2 separate regions of the Homo sapiens genome follow, and region 1 is linked to region 2. The links are contacts of gene promoters, found by promoter capture Hi-C in blood cells and fetal thymus (Javierre and others, 2016). All regions are on one chromosome and are shown on one strand. Each heading gives the region's core, a stretch centred on a gene start or on the middle of the fragment in contact. The rest is flanking DNA. Distances are from core to core; before and after follow the strand shown.

Region 1 (5,656 bases), core at 1,439-3,938, 260 kb after region 2:
TACTTGTGACACCTAATGCAGTGTAAATACTATGCAAGTAGTTGTTATACTGTATTGTTTAGGAAATAAATGTCAAGAGGAGAATGTCTATACATGTTCAGTACAAATGCAACCATCATAGGCCTAACTACATTTTCCATCCACAGTTGGTTGAATCCATGGATGCCAAACCCATGGATATGGAGGACTGATGGTATAAGTTTTCACTCTAAAAGTATGCAAGATTTCTATTTTAGCAAATAAGGTATCAGTGGAGAGTAGGCAAAGTCACCTTAAAGGGAAGAAATGGCTCCCTGCTGGCCAAATGCTCTCCTGCTGGACTTGGCTATAACCTAATTGAAAATGTTAACATATTTGGCTGGGTGCGGTGGCTCACGCCTGTAATCCCAGCACTTTGGGAGGCAGAGGTGAGTGGATCACTTGAGGTCCGGAGTTCGAGAGCAGCCTGGCCAACACGGTGAAACCCTGTCTCCATTAACAATACAAAAGTTAGCCAGGCGCAGTGGCTCACGCCTGTAATCCCAGCACTTTGGGAGGCTGAGGCGGGCGGATCACAAGGTCAGGAGATCGAGACCATCCTGGCTAACACAGTGAAACCCCGTCTCTCCTAAAAATACAAAAAATTAGCCGGGTGTGGTGGCGGGCACCTGTAGTCCCAGCTACTCGGGAGGCTGAGGCAGGAGAATGGCATGAACCCGGGAGGCGGAGCTTGCAGTGAGCCGAGATTGTGCCACTGCACTCCAGCCTGGGCGACGGAGCAAGACTCTGTCTCAAAAAAAAAAAAAAAAGTTAACTGGGTGTGGTGGCTCGTGCCTGTAGTCCCAGCTACTGGGAAGGCTGAGGCAGGAGAATCACTTGAACACCGGAGGTGGAGGTTACAGTGAGCTGAGATTGCGCCACTGCACTCCAGCCTGGGCGACAGAGTGAGACTCTGTCTCAAAAAAAAAAAAAAAAAGAAAAAGAATGTGTGTTAACCTGAAGACGGGTCAGCAATGAAAGTCTAGTAAAGGGAGAGTCCCTGAGGCCAGTCCAAGCACCATCCTGGAAAGCCGTCACATTCAGAGTAGTCCAGGAGTGCTGGCAAGGCTGCCAATAGCAAAGAGGTGGGGGTAGAAGATTGTTGCCAAGAAGAGTTTTCTGGACCCATTGGCATGGCTGCTTATTGCAGATGGCCAGATGCCATTAAAGATACAAATCCTCCAGTAATGTCATTGTGCATTTATACATTGACATTATGATTCTGATTTGGCTTCAGGGAGAGAATGTACTAGACATGTAGATATGAGTTTTCAGTCTGAGTGACAGTTAAATATTTATGATAAATTAATATTTATGTATTATGGCTTTATATTTCAGAAGATTGTGAACTTTGTTGGCATGAATGATTATTTCCAAGATCCAGCTTTGGAGTCTGCAAAGCCCAGGCCCGTGTCCCTGTCAGAGGTAAATTCAACCTGGCAAATGTTACCTGTGTGGTCTCTTCGGACATAGCCTGTCAGCCTTCTCCATGTATATATATCAGCATTCTGAAGCCTCCACATTTAGTAAGGCAGAATCACACGCTATTAGATCTGAGAGGGACCTGATGCAGTATCTAGTCCAAGCCCCCCTTTTCCAGATGAGAAACCTGAAGTTCACAGATGTGGAGAACTTGACCAAGAGTTGACAGCTTGTTAGCAGTGAGAACCCAGGTCCAAGCCCAGGTCAGTGCTGTCTGGAAGGTCCTGACCTTATCTGGCATAGACACATTCAGGATGTATTTCCCCAAATCACCATATTCCCTCTCACTCCTTCGGCAGGGATGGTCATCAAGTGTCACCAAGTGGCATGTCTTGGATCTCTGAGTCCAGGTTATTGATGCAAGAGCAAAGGAAAGATGAAGGGAAAAGCTGAAACAATTTACTTCTTCCTGCCCGGGAAGTACAAGTGTGTGGAGGGGAGGGGAGGGAGGTAGAGGAGAGTAAGAGAAAATGGAGAAGGGTATTGAGAGGATCCTTTTTGAGTCATTGGAGCAAATTAATGGAAGGGGAACTGTCCGGTTGGTCAGGTCTGTAAAAATCCCTCAACTTCCCCAGTACTTCTGCTACCACCAACTGAATGGACAGGATGAGGAGGTGTCCACTGTAAATAAGTAACCTGGACTGTTTTGTGAGGAAAGAGATGGAAGGAATCCAGGGGTCTCTGACTCTGGCAGTTCAGGATAGAAACCACACCTTGTTATCTCTGCTTTCTCTAAAATGTCCAGGTAAACTTGGAATAGGAGCACTCTGGATTTGGGAGACTGTTGTGAAAAAGGAGTTTGAGAGCAGTGGAGAAGGCAAGGGAGGTGTTTTGAAGGCAGCAAAAGCCCCTGAAATTATTGGGTCCTGCCATACTGAGACTGGGGTGCTAAGGAAGGGGCTGCCACATTCCCCATCTCCCTGTCTTCCCACTTGTCTTCCTAACATCACTGTTTTTTTCTTTAGTTCCTTCTATCTTTTACTAGGAAGGGCCTGGGAAGGGCTGGGTGCCATTTCCAGCTGTTCTTGTGACAACCTCCGGCCCTTTCATCATTTCTCCCCGTGCCCTGACTCCCTCCCCATCCTCTTTTCTCCTCTCCCCACCAATGGTCTCTCCCGATGCTCAGTGGCGCGGGGTAGGGGGGGGCGGAGGCGGGGCTGGAGTGGTGGAAGGGGGGTGGCAGGTCTGCATTGCCGCTTCCCTGGTGCCGGGAGCAGTCGCCGCTGCCGCCTCCGCCCGCGGCCGGGACCCCCGTCCTCGCCCGGGACTCCTTACCCGGGGAACCTAGACCAGGTGAGACCCCTTTCTCAGTCGCTCACCTCCTCCCCGCCCCTGGCAGAAGCATCTTTGCCTTGCCTTGCAGCCATTTTATCCTCCGATGCTTTGCTTATGGGGAGGGTGACGATCCCCTCTCTAGGGGTGAGGGGGGTTGGTGGGTTGGTGGTGGTTTGGGGATGGACATTTATTTCAGTTGTGCTCTTCAGGACACACACACACACACGCATATGTATAATATTGGTGAATGGGGAGGAGGGGTGTTTTTCTCTACCTTAACCAAGTCCCCACTATCCCCTTCGGAGATTAACGTGGTGGTGGGGTTGTGAGGTGGGATGAGGTTCCCTCAAACTCCTATCCCCTCCTCACCTTGACGTCCCCCCACCCCCAGGATGAATGATAAATGACCTTGGCTGGGGCTGGAGAATGGATGCTGCCTCAGTGTGCACGCCTGGACTTGGGTGGGTGGGGGGCAGGGGAAGAAGGGCAGGTGAAGGATGGAGGGAAGGGGAGTGAAGAATGGAAATACTGGGGAGACAGAGATGTAGAGCCGCCAGGTGTTGGGGGCATGGATGGCGGGGGCTGGCGGCAGTTGCTCCGGGGTGGGGGGAAGGGATGTTGAGTGAAGGTGGACACTTGTCTAGCAGCAGGACCAAGGGTGGAGGAGGTGCTCAGAGCAGGGATTTAGTCAGTTCTGGGGGCTTTTCCCTTATTCCGGAGCTGAGGCAAGATGGGGTGTGGGGGGGTCGCTGCAAATGCTGATAGGGGCGGTCTCTATGTCTGTGCATGCGGAGGTCTCTCCCTGCGTCCCCCTCTCTGCCTCTCCGTATTCCTCAGTGTGCATTCTCAGCTGACACCCTCATTTTTATCCCTCAGAACTGTGGGTGCTCCTATCTTCCTAACCTTGGTAGGATGTGGGGAGGGGAGGCGCAGTCTTGATGGTCCTGGGTGGGGGCTGAAGTTCGATGACCGGGCTGTCATGGGGAAGGGGTGCTCCCGCACCTCCCACATTCTACCCCCGCCCCCGCGGACGTTTTGATAAGTGATTGCTTTTTAATGACCTTGTCACCTGAGCTAGGAAGGCCTGGGGATCTGGGTGGACCCCAAAGTCAGGGGCTTTGACTGGGAGGGTGGGGGGTTCTGGACCCAGGGCTGGATGAGCTGTTCTGAAAGAAAGCATTTGCTCTGGAGTCCCCTGCCTGTCTCCACCCTCTGCAGAAAATCTCCTGGGCACATTTTTTCCTGTCAGGTGAAGTCAGCCAGCCTAGGACCTTGTAACCCTGAACCTTGTCTCCTTTAACCTCCACCTCTCCAAGTCTTGTCTCACTCCCCCAGGCTTAGCCACCCTGTGCTGTTTTGGGGGCTAAAAATAGCACCACTTCCTCACCAGCTCAAAGAATTTGTCTTCTTTCTTTCTCTCCTGACCTCCTGGGCTTGCTGGCCCTGAGGAAGCTGGCTGTTGAGACCTCATATCCTGCTGTGGTTGTGGAAGGCTTCCCTGCCCTACGTGCCCCTCTCAGGGGGAAATAGGGTCAACAAACATAGAGTATGGCTCCTGGTGGGTCCTGCCTCCTTCAGGGCTGGAGGGGAGATCCTGGTTAGGAAAGAGAGGAAAGCTAGCAAATTGCCATGCGCTGAGGGGATTCCGCAGTTCCAGCTCTTTCATGGGGGATGGTTGGGCCCTGAACCATGAAGAAAAGGTGACATAGGGGTCACTGCTTCTGGTCACCGTGGTCCACTGCTTACATCTGTCCTGAGGGGATAAGGCGCTGCTTGCCAGTGCTTCTCTCTGAACCACATAGCATTGCTTACCGTCTTCTACCAGGGCGTGTGTGTGTGTGTGCGTGTGTGTGTGTGTGTGTGTGTTTTAATGAAGGCCCTGGATGGGTGGGAGCACCGGAGGCAGGATATTTTTAGGGGGATGATTTCTGATCAGAATCTAGGCCTGCTTCCTCTGCTCCTATGAAGGAAGGGGGCTATCCCATGCCTTCCTCTGGAGAATGTCTTTTTTGGGGGGACACCCAAACCCCCTTTATTCTACATCCGCCTCCTACGCAATGCGGTGTTTGTGGACTCCTTCTTCCTTGACTCCTGGAGGAGGAGCAGAAAGGATTAAGGGGGATTAGGAAGGGAGGCCCTGGAGGGATGGGATGCAACTGTAGGCCTTAGAACCTCATGTTGGAAATGTATGCATTTGACAGTCATTTCCATTCTCACCCCCATCTGTGGAAAGGGGGCCTATCTATGACATTCTGAAGCAAGGTGGCAGTGGACAGTCATCACCTCTTTCTTAGCTTTCCATCTTTCCTCCACTTTACTTGGGTTCCAGGTCCCCCTTTTCTGGATCTTCCCTTGTTCTTCTGGAGGTAGTTAATGTGGGCCCAGCTACTGGAATTAGTTGAAACATAGATAGGGGTGTCTTGGGACTCTGTTTGCAAGGATGCTGGGCAACAGCATCTAAGTATGACCCCCCTGTTGTCCCTTGCTGCTTCCTGTTTCTTTCCCACTTTCAACATCATAGGAAGGAAGAAAACTAACATAGAGTATCTACTGTGAGATTACATTCTCACATCAACTCCAAGAAACAGTCTCCCAATTTAATTATCCCCAGTTAAAATAGATGGACACTGAGGCTTAGGGAGGTTAACTACCCTGACTGAGATCAGTTAGTAAGTGGCAGAGTTGGGATTTCAACTTAGGTCACCCCTAACAGTCATGTGCTTTGCCCTGAACCAGGATTCTCCTTGCCAGTGTCCCTTCCTGCTGCTCACCCTAAAGAGCATCCAAGATAGCTTTCATCTGGGGACCTTATGAGGTAGTATAGGGCATTTCACTATATTACTGTCACCACAAAATTAATAATTAATATTTATTCATCATT
Region 2 (5,974 bases), core at 896-3,395:
TTTTTTTTTTTTTGAGACGGAGTTTCATTCTTGTTGCCCAGGCTGGAGTGCAACGGTCTGATCTCGGCTCACAGCAACCACTGCCTCCTGGGTTCAAATGATTCTCCTGCCTCAGCCTCCCGAGTTACAGGCATGCAACACCACGCCCAGATAATTTTTTCTTTTTTTGTATTTTTAGTAGAGATGGGGTTTCTCCATGTTGGTCAGGCTGGTCTCAAGCTCCTGACTTCAGGTGATCCACCTGCCTCAGCCTCCCAAAGTGTTGGGATTACAGGTGTGAGCCACGCGCCCGGCCAGCTCTTCCTTTTCATGTAAGCATGCTCTTAACTTTTCTGCTGGAGTTGGAGAAATTTGTTTTGATGCAGCCATCTGCCAGTTGCATAATCTTGGGTATGTTTCAACATCTCCAAGCTTCAGTTCCCCATCAGTCAAATGGGCATCATAATTCCCACTTGGCACAGTGTTGGGAAGATTTATTGAGCCAATGTATGTGAAAGGGCCTATGTTTCATTTTACTTTTTTGCAAGGCCTTGTCACAATGGAGTTCCTAAGGCAATGTGTAATCCAACCCAAGATAATAGATACCAAAATGTTCTATTCTTTCCTGGGATGTGACTGCCAATGTTAGCCTCCCATACTCTCAGCCTGTGTGCTTTACTGAAACTGTCTCTGAAAGCTCATCACCTTCAGGTAATTCATACAAGATTTTTTTACATTTGTATAGTACTTTATAGCTGTCACAGAGACCTTAGCAACAATCATCTAATTTGAACCCCCTAGCAAACCTTCTGGGGCAAGGCACATTTTATCACCATGTTACATATAACATAAACGAGGCTCAGAGAGAATGATATAAAGAAACTGAGGGCCGGGCACAGTGGCTCACACCTGTAATCCCAGCATTTTGGGAGGCCAAGGTGGGAGGATCACTTGAGGTCAGGAGTTCAAGACCATCCTGGCCAACATGGTGAAACCCCGTCTCTACCAAAAATATGAAAGTTAGTCAGGTGTGGTGGCACACGCATGTAATCCCAGCTACTCATGAGGCTGAGGCATGAGAATTCCTTGAGCCCAGGAGGCGGAGACTGCAGTGAGCTGAGATCGCACCACTGCACTCCAGCCTGGGCGAGAGTGAGACCTTGTCTCAAAAAAAAAAAAAGATCCAGGTGCCATGTCTCATGTCTGTAATCCCAGCACTTTGGGAGGCTGAGATGGGTGGATCACCTGAGGTCAGAAGTTCGAGAGCAGCCTGGCCAACATGGTGAAACCCCGTCTCTAGTAAAAATACAAAAATTAGCCGGGCATGGTGGCAGGTGCCTGTAATCCCAGCTACTCAGGAGGCTGAGGCAGAAAAATCGCTTCAACCTAGGAGGTGGAGGTTGCAGTGAGCCGAGATCGTGCCATTGCACTCTGGCCTGGGCAACGGAGTAAGACTCTTGTCTACAAAAAAAAAAAAAGAAAAAAAAAGAAACTGAAGCTCAAAGAAGACAAATAATAAACAGCAGAGACCAGGAGTAGATTACTTCTAGACTACTTCAAGACTAAAGAGATGAGAGGTACCTTCCCTGACCTCAATCTGCCTAGGTTTAGAATTCTTGAGTCTGTTTCCCCAATCATGTTTTGCATCCTAGTAAAATGCATGCCACTTCTAAAATAATTTTTCTGTTGAAATAATAACATCAGCAGGCCGGGCGCGGTGGGTCACACCTGTAATCTCAGCACTTTGGGAGGCCGAGGTAGGTGGATCACCTGAGGCCAGGAGTTCGAGGCCAGTCTGGACAACATGGCGAAACCCTGTCTCTACTAAAAACACACAAATTAGCTGGGTATGGTGGTGGGTGCCTGTAGTTCCAGCTACTTGGGAGGCTGAGGCAGGATAATCATTTCAGCCTGGGAGGCAGAGGTTGCAGTGAGCTGAGATGGCACCACGGCACTCCAGCCTGGGTGACAGAGTGAGACTCCGTCTCAAAACAGCAACAACAAAAAGAAATAATAACATCAGCAAAATACTTCATCGTTTGTAAAACACCTTAAAATTGATGGATTCATTTGATTCTTACAGTAGCCTCCTGGGTAAGTAGAGCAAACATGAGTTATTCTGTTTTTCAGATGAGGAAATAGATGTGAGAATTGAGACCTGCCCAATGTCAAACAACCAAGGAGCAGAGCTGGAACGGGAAACTGACTTTCTGGGCAGCAACTTCAATGCCTTCTTATAGGTTCATTATTGTTGTTATACTTTTATTATGCTTCTATTGTGCTGTGTAATTTTTTTTTTTTTTGAGATGGAGTCTCGCTGTCGCCCAGGCTGGAGTGCAGTGCCACGATCTCGGCTCACTGCAGGCTCTGTCCCCCGGGGTTTACGCCATTCTCCTGCCTCAGCCTCCCGAGTAGCTGGGACTACAGGTGCCCGCCACCTCTCCCGGCTAATTTTTTGTATTTTTAGTAGAGACAGGGTTTCACCGTGTTAGCCAGGATGGTCTCGATCTCCTGACCTCGTGATCCGCCCACCTCGGGTAATTTTTTTTAAAAATTCAAATTAGTTAACCTCTTGTAGACATTCATTAAAATACATTTGTTGAGCACCTGTGTAAACTGCTCACCATCTAGTTGGGAGAAAGGTAAATAAACAGTTACAAAAACAAAACATACTTTGCAATTTGGAGACTTAATAAATGTTTTTGATGACAGTGTGATGACAGCTTGTACTCCAAAATTAATAATCACAATGAAGGCTGGGCGTGGTGGATCAAGCCTATAATCCCAGCACTTTGGGAGGCTTAGGTAAGCAGATCATGAGGTTAGGAGTTCGAGAACAGCCTGGCCAACATGGTGAAACCCAATCTCTACTAAAAATACAAAAAAATTAGCCAGGTGTGATGGCGCATGCCTGTAATCCCAGCTACTTAGGAGGCTGAGGCAGGAAAATCGCTTGAACCCAGGAGGCGGAGGGTGCAGTGAGCAGAGATCATGCCACTGCACTCCAGCCTGGGCAACAGAGCGAGACTCCATCTCAAACAAACGAACAAAAAACCCGCAATGGACTTTTGTGAAATAAGAGAGAAAGCAGCCACACGTTTATATACCCATGTGCATAAGCTCCCACCACACACCAGTGAAATCATCTGAATTTTACATTTCAATAAGTAACTGGCACCTTCTTGGCATATTAATCTGTAGGAAATTATAGGCTGCAGTGTTGTGGTATATTATCAGAGAATGTCAAGTAGATTACAGTATTATGTTACTTTGACATCACTGCCCGGCATTGCTTTGGTCTTTTCCTTACTAACAGATACATTTACTAGAACTCATTTCAATGTCATGTAAAAAAAGATAATTTATAATAATTTCCATTGTAAACAGAATATTTCTTGCTTGATCATAAAGACTTCACTTACCTTCTGTCCTCTTGCTGTTTGGGGTCATGATTGGTGTCTGCTCACCCTTCTCGGTTCTCCAGAGCAACATGTGACCTGAAGCCAACTTGGAAAGAGAAGAAACAGGTCAAAGAAGAGAGCAAAGATTAAACAGAACAGTGTGTTATAGCACTCGATCTCGAATTAAAAAAAACAAAAGGTAAAACTCCCCTGTGTAGTGAAGAATTGATTTTACCCAAAGAGAGGTCTGGCTTTGGCCCTCGGCTACTGGGAGATGATCTCTAGGCCTCTGGAATGTCCTGCCCAATAGGAATGTCATTGTTTGCCTGAGGAGTTTGGCCACCAGATGCTCAAATGATGTGATTTATAATGGGGGCTCCGAAACACGCCATATCAGTTCCAGCCCCCATAGGGACTGGAGAGCAAAGGTCAGTCATGCAGGCAGCATGTGGTCAAGCTCCAGCAAGGGCTCTGGACACCAAAGACTCGGGCAAGCTTTCCTGGTGGCAGCACTCGCAAGCACTGCCACACCTCGTAGCAGGGAGGGGCAGTGATGTCTGGAACTCCACAGGAGAAGGTGCCCAAAGCTTCCCGTGTAGCTCTTCCCAGACTTTGCCCTCTGTATCTCTTCTCTTGGCTGGTTCTGATTTGTACCCTTTTGCTGCAATAAAAGTTTAACTTATCATAAGTATAGTGCTTTCCTGAGTTCTGTGAGTCATTGTAGCAAATTATCAAACCTGCAGGGGTAGTGGAACCAACCCCTGAACTGGCTACTGGTGTCTGAAGTGAGAGTGGCCTGAAGTGGAGGACTGTTCCTTACCCTGTGAAGTCTGGCCTGAATCCAGGCAGTTGGGGTCAGACATCACTGCATTTCCCAAAGCCTGCTTTTAGATTTTGATTTTGACACTTTTTGACACTTTCTACCTTGGTTACTTCTCTCGATTTCATTTTTTTTTTTTTTTTTTTTTTAAGTACAGATTCTTGCTCTGTCACCCAGGCTGGAGTGCAATGGCACGATCTCAGCTCACTGCAACCTCCGCCTCCCAGGTTCACCTGATTCTCCTGCCTGAGCCTCCCGAGTAGCTGGGGTTATAGGTGCCCGCCACCACGCCCGGCTAATTTTTTTTGTATTTTTAGTAGAGATGGAGTTTCACCATGTTGGCCAGGCTGGTCTCAAACTCCTGACCTCAAGTGATCCACCCGCCTCGGCCTTCCAAAGTGCTGGGATTACAGGCGTGAGCCACCATGCCTGGCCGGCTTCAATTTTTCTAATCCTTAATTTGGGGGTCATACTTGTCCTATTTTCTTCACAGGGTTAATTATGAAGATCAAAAATTAAATAGTGTGTGTGTGAGAGAGCTATTGATGGCAAACAAGAACATGCTATCTAAAACTGTAAAGGACCATCAAAAGGTATTACTTTTATTACAATGGAACTAAATGGTGGGGATAATGTGGTGGAGATGTACATGTGTTAGGTAAGGCTTTCTTCAATCATTCATTACACAAATAAAGATTGAGTTTAGGTGTGGGGAGATAAGTCAGGGCCCCACCCTGTGCGGGCTTCTATTCTACCCAGGGAGAGAGAAAATAAAGAGGCAACTGAGGAGAATAATTAGACTGTGGTCATTGTTGTGATGGAAGCAGAATGATAAGGTAACAATTCTGTTGGAAGGGGTGCCTCTCAAGACAGAGCAGCCAGAGAAGGCTCATAAGAACTGATGTTTGGATAAAGAAGTTAAAAAAGAGAACAAGGGTATTTTAGGCAGAAGGAATAGCAAGGGCAAAGGTCCTGAGGTGGGAAAGAGCTTGGCGTGTGTACAGAACAGAAAAGAGATCTGTGTGTCTGGCCTGGGGATAAGGTTGGAGATATGCATGAGTCAGAAGAAGAAGGACCTTTTTTTTTCCCTTTTTCTTTTTTGAGACAAGCTCTCACTCTGTCGCCCAGACTGGAGTGCAGTGGGACAATCTTGATTCACTGCATCCTTGACCTCCCAGGCTCAAGTGGTCCTCCCACCTCAGCCTCCCAAGTAGCTGGGACTATAGGTATGCATCACCACGCCTGGCTATTTATTTGTATTTTTAGTAGAGATGAGGTTTTGCCATGTTGTGCAGGCTGGTCTCAAATTCCTGGGCTCAAGCTATCTGCCTGCCTCAGCCTTCCAAAGTGCTGGGATTACAGGCATGAGCCACTGTGCTTGGCAGAGAAGGGCCTTATTTGCCAAAGAAAATATTTGGATTTTTAAGAGTGACATGAAATTAGGGTGGTTTTAAGTAGTCAAGTGACATGAACTGCTTTAAGAAGACACTCCAGGCTGGGCGTGGTGGCTCACACCTGTAATCCCAGCACTTTGGGAGGCTGAGGCTGGCAGATCACCTGAAGTCGGAGTTCAAGACCAGCCTGACCAACATGGAGAAACCTCGTCTCTACTAAAAAAAAAAAAATACAAAATTAGCCGGGCATGATGGCACATATACCTGTAATCCCAGCTACTCGGGAGGCTGAGGCAGGAGAATCACTTGAACCTGGGAGGCGGAGGTTGTGATGAGCCGAGATTACACCATGGCCCTCCAGCCTGGACAACAAGAGCGAA

What was found. The method cuts DNA at HindIII sites, captures the fragments that hold promoters and counts their contacts. A CHiCAGO score of 5 or more calls a contact.
Region 1: a contact is called between the fragment with the promoter of SV2A here and a fragment that was not itself captured in region 2, in 4 of 17 cell types (monocytes, activated CD4 T cells, M0 macrophages and 1 more). The highest score is 8.0, in monocytes.

What each region holds. Positions count from the first base shown.
Region 1 is chr1:149,914,876-149,920,531 of GRCh38, reverse strand. SV2A (synaptic vesicle glycoprotein 2A) reads left to right here and starts at 2,688. Exons shown (of 13, transcript NM_014849.5): 1 at 2,688-2,793. RefSeq lists a silencer at 2,775-2,844. The HindIII fragment of the contact is 16,072 bases long and covers 1-5,656 here.
Region 2 is chr1:150,171,242-150,177,215 of GRCh38, reverse strand. LINC02988 (long intergenic non-protein coding RNA 2988) reads right to left here. Exons shown (of 4, transcript NR_135098.1): 3 at 3,402-3,486. Among named protein-coding and RNA genes, the nearest start is that of LINC02988, 14 kb to the right of the region's middle. RefSeq lists a silencer at 3,573-3,867. The HindIII fragment of the contact is 3,464 bases long and covers 414-3,877 here.